Linked DNA regions of Homo sapiens: region 1 is linked to region 2. Evidence: promoter capture Hi-C in 16 types of primary human blood cells and fetal thymus (Javierre and others, 2016). All regions are on one chromosome and are shown on one strand. Each heading gives the region's core, a stretch centred on a gene start or on the middle of the fragment in contact. The rest is flanking DNA. Distances are from core to core; before and after follow the strand shown. Region 1 holds the start of LOC124902030 (a long non-coding RNA gene). Region 2 holds the start of DENND3 (DENN domain containing 3).

Evidence for each region. The method cuts DNA at HindIII sites, captures the fragments that hold promoters and counts their contacts. A CHiCAGO score of 5 or more calls a contact.
Region 1: a fragment that was not itself captured here is called in contact with the fragment with the promoter of DENND3 in region 2 in 3 of 17 cell types (total B cells, naive B cells and monocytes); the score reaches 7.3 in total B cells.

The regions. Positions count from the first base shown.
Region 1 is chr8:141,032,564-141,039,282 of GRCh38, forward strand. LOC124902030 (a long non-coding RNA gene) reads right to left here and starts at 5,474. Exons shown (of 2, transcript XR_007061121.1): 1 at 5,142-5,474; 2 at 3,994-4,341. It overlaps LOC105375783 (a long non-coding RNA gene), which reads left to right. Exons shown (of 3, transcript XR_007061120.1): 3 at 51-332. RefSeq lists enhancers at 4,658-5,282, 5,283-5,908, 5,909-6,533. The HindIII fragment of the contact is 210 bases long and covers 3,561-3,770 here.
Region 2 is chr8:141,127,339-141,130,038 of GRCh38, forward strand. DENND3 (DENN domain containing 3) reads left to right here and starts at 1,251. Exons shown (of 23, transcript NM_001352890.3): 1 at 1,251-1,471. The coding sequence starts at 1,370. It overlaps DENND3-AS1 (DENND3 antisense RNA 1), which reads right to left. Exons shown (of 2, transcript NR_183310.1): 1 at 2,686-2,700. RefSeq lists enhancers at 1-678, 1,512-2,342 and a silencer at 797-1,656. The HindIII fragment of the contact is 7,380 bases long and covers 1-2,700 here.

The DNA.
Region 1 (6,719 bases), core at 2,416-4,915, 92 kb before region 2:
TGCGAGAGCCCAGAACGACTCCTTCCCACGCTCCTTTATTCTCTCTGCAGACAGTCTTCCCACCACCTTGTTCCGAGGCTCTGGGTGAGTGTTCCAGAAGCTGACGAGATGCAGGATCGTCTCCCTCACACACACAAATGCCATGGCAACAGCAACTCCGTGACAACAGCAAAGAAAGCCAGACTGGAATTTGCCAACCCAGAGTGTTGACCATCTGTGAGGCCAAACCCTCCAAATGTTGCCCGTTCTAAGTGCTCATCTCAACCAGGCTTTTGTACATAGCAGAGGCGACATTTAAGTGACATAAGAATAAACATTGGGCACATGTGAAATCCCTTTAAAGTGTGCATTTTTCTGCCCCAATGTGACTGAGATGATGACACAATGAAGAAAAAGGGGGGACTAGGTTTGAGTGAGTGGGCATGGTAGATTTCAGTAATAGGAAATTTAGACCGTCCATAGGGGAGGAGCTCTCCATAGAAAAAACGGCCCAGTTAGTTTATATCTATGCTTCCATTTTCAAGTCCAACAATCTTTTAGAAGTTTACCTTCCCCAAGGCAAAACATTGTGTGTATATATATATATATTTTTTTTGCTTTTTTTGAGACAGGGTCTTCCCCTGTCACCCAGGCTGGAGTGCAGTGGTGCAAACATGGCTCACTGCAGCCTCGACCTCCTGGGCTCAAGCCATCCTCCTGCCTCAGCCTCCCTAGTAGCTGGGACTATAGGCGTGCACTATCATGCCCGGCTAATTTTTAATTTTTTGTAGAGACAGGGTTTTGGCATGTTGCCTGGCCTCAAACTCCTGAGCTCAAGCCATCCTCCTGCTTTTGTATCCCAAACTTGTGGGATTATAGGCATGATCCACTACATCCGGCCAAAGATTTGTGAATAGTTCCATCAAAGGCCCCAATAAATTTAACCCTCTGGGTCTTGAGTTTCCATGGGTCTCCTTTTGTTCTTATAATAACAGTGATAACATCTGGTAGGAACTGTGCCAAATCCTTCATATGTATTTTCTCACTTACTCTTTGTAACAAACTTAGGAGGAGGTACGGCGATTACTGTTGGCCCTCCATATCTGCGGGGATTTGTGGGTTGGGTTCTACCAACTGTGGATTGAAAATATTTGGGGGAAAAAAATCCACAATGAAAAATAACAATAAAACAATAAAAATAATACACAATTTCAAAATACAGTATAACAACTATTTCCATAGCATTTTCATTATATTAGGTATTATAAGTAATCTAGAGATGATTTGAAGTGTACGGGAGAATGTGCATAGGTTGTATGCAAGTAATACTCCAATTTATGTAAGCAACTTGAACATCCTTGGATTTTAGTATCTGTGGGGGTCCTGGAATCAATCCCCCCACAGATATCAAAGGATAACTATACCTTTGTTTTAAAGAAAGTTGAGAAAACACGCACCAGCTTGGAGCTTGCTGGAGGCCGGGCAGAGGCAGACTGGCTGGGAAGGATTGTTTTCTTTTTTTTTTTGAGATGGAGTCTTGCTCTGTCACCCAGGCTGGAGTGCAGTGCCATCTTGGCTCACTGCAAGCTCCGCCTCCCGGATTCACGCTATTCTCCTGCCTCAGCCTCCAGAGTAGCTGGGACTACAGGCGCCCGCCACGACGCCCGGCTAATTTTTTTGTATTTTTAGTAGAGATGGGGTTTCACCATGTTAGCCAGGATGGTCTCGATCTCCTGACCTCGTGATCCACCCGCCTCGGCCTCCAAAAGTGCTGGGATTACAGGCGTGAGCCACCACGCCCAGACCAAGGATTGTTTTCTTTTACTTGCTGCCTAAATCCTTGGAAGCTTTGGGTGACCCTGGGAACAAGTGAAAGTAAGGCTTAGGTGGAGGCGGAGGCTGGGGGAGTTGTGGGAAGGCCACCCTCAAGGGCAGGTTGAGGGACTTCGGGGAGGGCCCTTCTTGAAGAGGCCAGGGTGGAAGACAGGAAGAGCTGTTTTGGAAAGCGAGGCTGGTGGATTTGGCTGAGGGTGTGCGGAGCTTGATGGGACAGAGAGGACTGAGCTGGTGGATACACACGGGAGCCAGGTGCTCAGGAGAGGCCAGGCTGGATGGGCACACCCGGGAGCCATCAGTCAGAGACGATGACAGCATTTTTGGCTCGAGTCTACAGGTACTTCTCTGGGGCCTGCGCTGCCCCCTCAGGCCACTTCTGCCCCTGCCCTGTGTCCCCAAGACATGCTCATCTCTGTGCCTGGCAGGGCTGGGCTCCTTCCTGCCTCCCTGCTTGACCAGGAGCCCCTGTAAGCCACCGACCATGCCCAGCTCATCTTAGAGGCCTCAGCTCCTGACCAGGGCCATCCACGTCAGCATGTGTGGATCCCAACTTCCTCCTAAACCCAGGAACTCCTCACCTTTCTGCTCACTCCACGGCATCACAGCAGTAGCAAGTACTCGCAATTCTTCCTCCCTGTCGTGAGTTGAATTGTGTCTTCCCAAAAGATCTGTTGAAGCTCCAGCTCCCAGTAACCGTGAATAGGACCTTATTTGGAAATAGGGTCTTTGTAGATGCAATCGCGTTAGGCTCAATTGGGGGGCCTAAACTTATCTGAGTGTCTTTATAAGAAGAGGTACGAGAGACCCACAGGAACACCACACTGGAGGCAGAGATTGGAGTGGGGCAGCTGAAAGCCAAGGAACGCTGAAGATTGAAACCAGAAGCTGGAAGAGGCAGGAAGGTTCTGCCCTTAGAGCCTGGCCCTGCAACACCTTGATTTCAGGCTTCAGTCTCCAGAACTCTAAAACAATACATTTCTGCTGTTTTCAGCCCGCATGTGTATGGTGCTTTGTTACGGCAGCCACAGGAAACCAGCACACTCCGTGAGGCCCTCTTTCCCATCTCCCCTCCTGCCCTCGCTCCCCACTGCCTGGCTCTGGCCTTCCCTGCTCTTCCCTTTCCATCCAGCAGCCCTGGTGCCACAGGAGGGCTGAGTCACAGGCTGAGTCACAGTGAGTCCCCAAGTGCCCAGTGCTGTCCCACACCTTTGCCCCTGCTGTTCCCCTGCCTGAGCTGCCCTCCCTCTTGTCTGATGGTGACTTCTACGCATCCTTCAAAACTCAGGTCATCTCCGTGGTAGGGCGGTTCTGACCTCCAGATTGAGGCAATCATTCCCTCCACTGTTCTTCCCTTCAGCTCACCTCTTGCCCCCACTCCTCATGGCAGAGCCAGTTTAATTGCTTCTTATTTATGCCCCCTTTCCCCCGCCTCGAAGCATGAGTCTCTTGAGAGCAGGGAGTATGTCCCGTGGCAGAGACTCAATCATGGAGATTGGTTGGCTGTGTAGAGGGCTGGATGAACGACTGCATAAAAAAACTGGTTGGCTGGATGGTCAGACAACAGAAAACCTGAGAAAACATCAACACAATTGGCTCTGCATGCGCGATGTGCTCTTGTGGCCCTGGTGTTAGCAGGGAGGGATCCAGGGTTTGTGGGATCCGATGCTGATACAACTGAGGGGCATCCCCTTCCAGAAAAAACTACAAAAGCAGGTACAGGGCTTTAGAGGGGGCGCAGAAACGTAAGCTTTATCAGCATCCCGGCAAATTCACCTTTGCTGTTCGCTTCGCTGGGCACACCCCCATGTCCCGGCCTTGAGCTCCTGCCGCGCTCACCACTTCCTCCTTGCCTGACCGCGGACCGCAGGCAGCACTTTCGCTGAGATTGCTTCCCCTTGAGGTCTGCAGGTCTCTGGGCCCGGGAGAGCCTCCGCTGTCTCAGGAGCACAGGCTGAAGCTTCATCAGCCTCCAGCCCAGCCAGGGTGAGCGCCACCTTTAGAATATGTTTGCCTTGCCTCCTCCCACATGCTGCCCCCGTGGCTGGCCAAGCTCCATGGGATGGGGGTGCCAAGGAGACCTACGTTTCTGTCACCTGCTTGCAGGCTTGCAGGATCGTGGAAGGGCTATTGTGGTATATTTGTTTTCAAAGCTCTTGTAACAAATGACCACCAACAGGGTGTCTTCAAACAACAGAAATTTATTCTTCCAGTTCTGGAGGCCAAATGTCCAGGTGCCGGCAGGGCCGCTGCCGCCAAAGGCTCTGGGGCAGGATCCTCCCCACTTCTTCCTGCTCCTGGTGGCTCCTGGCAGCTCCTGGCATTCCTTGGCTTGTCCTGCCTCCACCTTCACATGGCTTTCCCTCTCTGTCTTCCCACTTCTTATATGGACGCCGATCATTGGATTTAAGGCTCACCCTAAAGCCAGGATGATGTCAGCTCAAGATCCTTCACTTGCATCTGCAAAGACCTTTTTCCAAATAAGGTCACATTTACAGGAACCAAGGGGTTAGGACTTGAACAGATCTCCTGGGGGACACAATTCAGACTGTTACACATGGGGACAATGATCGGACCCCACCTCACCTGGGAGGACAGCTGGCTGCTCTGCAACTGCAGAGATGGGAGGGCCCTACAAAGAGCCCACCCATCACTCCACAGCTACCCGTGCTCCCTCTTTTTTTTTTTTTTGAGAAAGAGTCTTGCTCTGTTGCCCACCTCGCAGGTTCAAATGATTCTCGTGCCTCAGCCTCCTAAGTGGCTGGGACTACAGGCGTGCACCATCATGCCCAGCTAATTTTTGTATTTTTTTGTAGAGATGGGGCCGTGATGACCAGGCTGGTCTCGAACTCCTGACCTCCCGTGACCCACTCGCCTCAGCCTCCCAAAGTGCTGGGATTCCCGGAGTGAGCCACCGACTACACCCAGTCAGTTGGCAGCAAGACCAAGAGCTCCTGGGGACAGGCGCATCTTCCACCCCAGCTTCACCCCCACCTGTGGAGCCTCCACCGTTTGCCCCTCTGCTTCCAGCCTTCATCTTCCCCTCCCTCCCTCTGACTGGTCCTGAGTAAGTAGTTCTCAGTCTTCCCCCCTTCTCCCCGTTTCCCCTGCACTCCTCTTCCTGGCCTCCCCCTTGGCCTGGCTCCAAGCTCCAAGCAGAGGGTGACAGGGAAGCGGCTGGGAAGGCGCCCTTTCCTGAGGCCCCTCGCAATGGAGATGAGCTCTGGGCCGGGACTTCACCAGGGTCTCCTCCTCTGTCTGTGCACTTGGCAGTCCATCTTTCTGGAAAAGACCCCTCCACACACACACACACCCAGAAACCCACCCACCTGCTGGTTCTGGCATCTCGTCCCATTCCTGGCTTGGTTACCACCTGCCCTAGCCCGTCACTCTAGATCTCAGCCTCTATTTGGGTCCTTCAGGACATTTGTTACTGCCATAGGGACGCCTCTGCCCCCTCCTCGGGTTTCCTTGGAGGCAGGCTGACTCCACGGGTGGGGGCAGAACAGCACTGGTCCCTCCCCGTCACTCCCTGGGGAGAGGGAGTCTGAGGAGTCCGGGAAGCCCAGCCTGCCTGTGGCCCTTGGGATGGCTCCCCGTGGCCAGCTCTCCCCTAGTGGGCACCGCCCCTGTTTGGCCCTGCTCGGCCCCTTCCTGGGATGGTTATGTTTAATTCAGGAGGAAGGAGCAAGAGCCCATCTGGTTATGAGTCAGAACAACTCCAGCAGCTTCACATTTCCAGCACGGAGCTGACACTTCAGCCCTTACCACCTGCTGATTCTGTTTCCTAATTAATTCCAATTGCAGAGGTGAGGGGGTGAGATGAATCAACACCTTCAAATACCCCACACTCGGATTTCATGGTGTTTTGTTTTTATTTGCCTCTGCTGGTTTATTTTTGTTGGTTTTCCCTAGGAAGGCAGTGAAGTACCTGAGGGCAAGCCTGGGTCTGGGTCTTGCAATCCTATCCTCAGTGCCTAGATGCCCAGTGAACACTGAATTCATCATTGTCCCCCTTTTACAGAGAGGGCTGTATGTCACACAGCGGGTACACGGGGAGCCGGGGTTTAAAGGAGTGTTTTCATGACCCTAATCCCCTGGCCGCTGACCTCCAGGCTCAGAGCCTGACTCATGTAGAATATGCCAGGCCCTTAGTGGCCTGTGGGCTGGCTTTGTGCCCAGAACCAGGGACGTGAGTATCCAGAGCTCACTTCCCCGCTGCTCTCCTCCTCCCCAGCCCCTTCTTGGCTTGCTCCCGCAGGAAGCCCTCCCTCAGGTATCATTTCCTACAGAGGAAATCTCCTTTGTCCCTGGAAGTGCAAATCTGGCTGTGAGAGTGGCAGGCCTCTTGGGGGCTATTGTTTGGCACTTCCTTCTTGGCAGTGGGCCTTGGGCTCCTGAACCCCTCTGCTGCCTGGCTGTCCAGGGTCTGAGTGCTCCCAGAGGCCCCCCAGGCTGGAAGAGCCAGTTAGTCAGTTAGATAACTATGACTTGGTTCCTGCCTTCAAGGAGGTAAGAGTGTGATGAAAGACCTCAAGCCAAAACCACCCAGAACCATCCAGAACCAACCAGAATCCCCAACCAAGCCCTTCCCAAACTCATCACCCACAGGGATTGTGAAAAATAATAAAACAATTACAGTTGTTGTTTTAACTGTGGTAAAATATGTGTAACGTAAAATTTACCATCTTCATCATTTTTAGGTGTACATTTCAGTGGCATTAAGTACATTCCTGGTGTTGTACGCACATCGCCACCATCCATTTCCAGAACGATTTCATCTTCCCAAACTGAAACTCCATCCCCACTTTAAACACTAACTCCCCTTCCTTCCTCTCCACAGTCCCTGGCACCCACTGTTCTGCTTTCTGTCTCCAAGAATGTGACTCCTCCAGGCACCTCATGTG
Region 2 (2,700 bases), core at 1-2,500:
CCTCAGCTCACCGATGAGAGCCACCGATGGTAGGCAGCCTCCAGGCCTGGGGGAGAACCAGCAGATCCTCACCATCTTTAGGTTAATAAGTGAAATAAAACCTGTGAGTCAGGCTGCAGTCACGGCCTCACCCGGCTCAGGGAAGGAGGGAGAAATTCCTCAGGGCTCCCTTTTCTGATGTTGCCTTGCTTTGTACTTACTGTTCCTTTTCCTGTTCAGCTGATGACAGATGTTTGACATTAAGCATTTTAGAGTTTTGTTTTTTAGAAAATAGAATCATAGATTATCAGAAGTGGAAGTCCCTTTGGAATAATTTCCCCTGGGTTACACAGATGGCTATGGCAGGGTCAAGGGAGGGGACGGTCAGCGGGGACTGAGCGCAGGCCCCCTCCAGGCTCTGCAGCAATGACCAGGCAGCAAGCCGGCCTCCCGGGCTTGTGGGCTGTCCTCTTTCTCTGGGGTCAGCCTGAGGCTGGAAGAGGCCCGTGGCCCACCGGGCATCAGGCCAAGCCTGGAGCTGACCAGGGAAGGGCCCTGCCAGGCCTTGGGCCTCTGACCCTCAGTCCTGAAGCCTCCCTCTAGCGGCGCCCACCCTGCTCCTTTTCCTGCTGAATTTTACTCAAGTCCGTACTTGAGTATGGCCGGCCCTAGGTTAACCCCGCAGAGTTATTAACCAGGAGTGGCTCTTTCCACCCCCCCTTCCCGCCGGCCCTTCCTGCTGTCCACACCCGGCCAACTCCACTGTCCTGGCAAGGGAGGGCTTCCTGGAGGCGGCAGCGGGCGGCGCGTCCGGCCTTTGTCCCCCCACGCTCTCCAGGGTAGGTCCAGGGACTGCCAGATCAGGGGACCCTTTGCGTCCTGGAGCCTTGGGGGCTGGATGACGTCGCCGGGCACCTGAGGACCCCGCCCATTCCTCCCTCGGTTCCCCAGGGAGCGGGCGGCCGGCGGGGCTGGGCGGGGCCGAAGGAAGGGGCCGCTTGCTCCGACGCCGCGCACGCGCCAGGGCCCGCAGGCGGGTTAGGAAATGACGACCGCGCGCGGGTCTCCAGCAGCACCCGCCCTAGGACCGGCCCCGCCCCCAAGTCCCGGTCCCTAGGGCCGGGCACGCCACTCCAGGCCCCGCCCAGAACCTCCCCGCCCAGTCAAGCCCCGCCCCCAAACTCTGTCTCCCCGCGGTATCCTCTGGGGCTCTCCAGGCCCCGCCTCGGCTCGGGCCCCGCCCCTCCAGGCCCCGCCTCCAGCCCCGCCCCGCAGACGGCGCTCGCAGCGCCCCCGGCCCCCAGGCGGCGCGGCTGGTCCCCAGGGGTCTGCGGGCGACTGCGCGGCTGAGGCGCCCGAGTGCGGTACTGGCGGCGGGCGGCGGGCAGCCATGGCGGAGGCCGCGTCGCCGCACTTGTCGCTGCCCTCGGGGCTGCTGGAGCTCTGCGCGCTGCTGGGCGCCCCCCGGGACAGTCTCCGAAGTCTCGAGCAGGTGAGGGGCGGGGAAACTGAGGCGGACGTGGGCCACGAGTCGGCAGCCGGGACAGCAGTCGGAGAGCGGGCGCCCGGGTGCCCTGTGGGTTGGCGCGGACTTTCCGAGGGCTGAGTCCCGGTCCCCCGGCGGTGACCCCGCGCGCCTGTGGCCGGGGATCGCGCCCGAGCTCAGGCAGGTGCCCTGGAGCAGCGCCCTGCTCCCCTCCCCTCTTCTCTCCTCTCCCCGCCCGGGGCCCTTGGTGTGAGACATGTCTTTTGAGAGCTGCGAACTTGGTCCGCCGGCCGGGAATCTGGGGGTGCCGCCCCTCGGAGAGTCTCTGGGGCCTCTCTCTTCAGTCGCTCCCATCTTGGGCAGGTGCTTCTGAAGGTGGGGTGCACCAGACAACGGGCGGAAGCCGCCGGAGCCTCACGGTCTAGCGGGCCCAGCCCTCGCTGCTGAAATGATTTCATTCTTTATGCTGGGATGTGTTGTCCCCTGAGTAGTGGGTTTTGCACCAGGCACAGAATAACGAGAGAGCAATCTTAGAGTTAGCCGCCGGCCTCGCGTATTCTGCATGAACCCCTTTGCGATGAAGCCTATAGCTATTTTTCTCCCTTGCGGTACCACCCCCACCCCCAACCCTTCCTCCATCTCTGCACCCTCGCAGCCAAAGTGACAACTTCATCTCCCTTCTGCTGGGAAAGCGGCAGTTTTGGAAATTCTCGTTTTCCTTTTTCTTCCCCAGCTTTTCTTAATTCTGTAACGCTGGCTTTCCCTGGAATCCATCTGTGTCTCTGGTTTCCTCCTGGTCCGCCTGTCTGTGACACCGTGACTGGGTCATGTTACCTAGAGATCCCGGCGTCACTGGCCAGCCGTCTGCACAGGTCCGTTCATCTCTTTGCAGACAACAGCATAGAAAGGCAGAGAGGCTTCTGAGTATTTAAATGACGCTGGGCTATCCAGGGAAAATGAAGACTGCAGGGCAGAGGGTGTCACCAGGAAAGGCAGATGTTCCTGCAAGTAACCAGATGAATGTCTGTGAGTGTCCGGGGAGTTTCCCCTGCTGGGCGTCAGTACCAAGCCAGTTTCGACTTCAGTGAAAAAGCATTCTCCTATGGAAATAGTTTCCTCGTTTCCCTCAACTTTTCCTTCCCTTCAACGCCCTGTCATGTCAGTAGATCCCGTTTGACCTCTGTCTCCTCGCAACGTCATCGATTGATTTGTCTCCCTACCTCGAATTTGCCAGA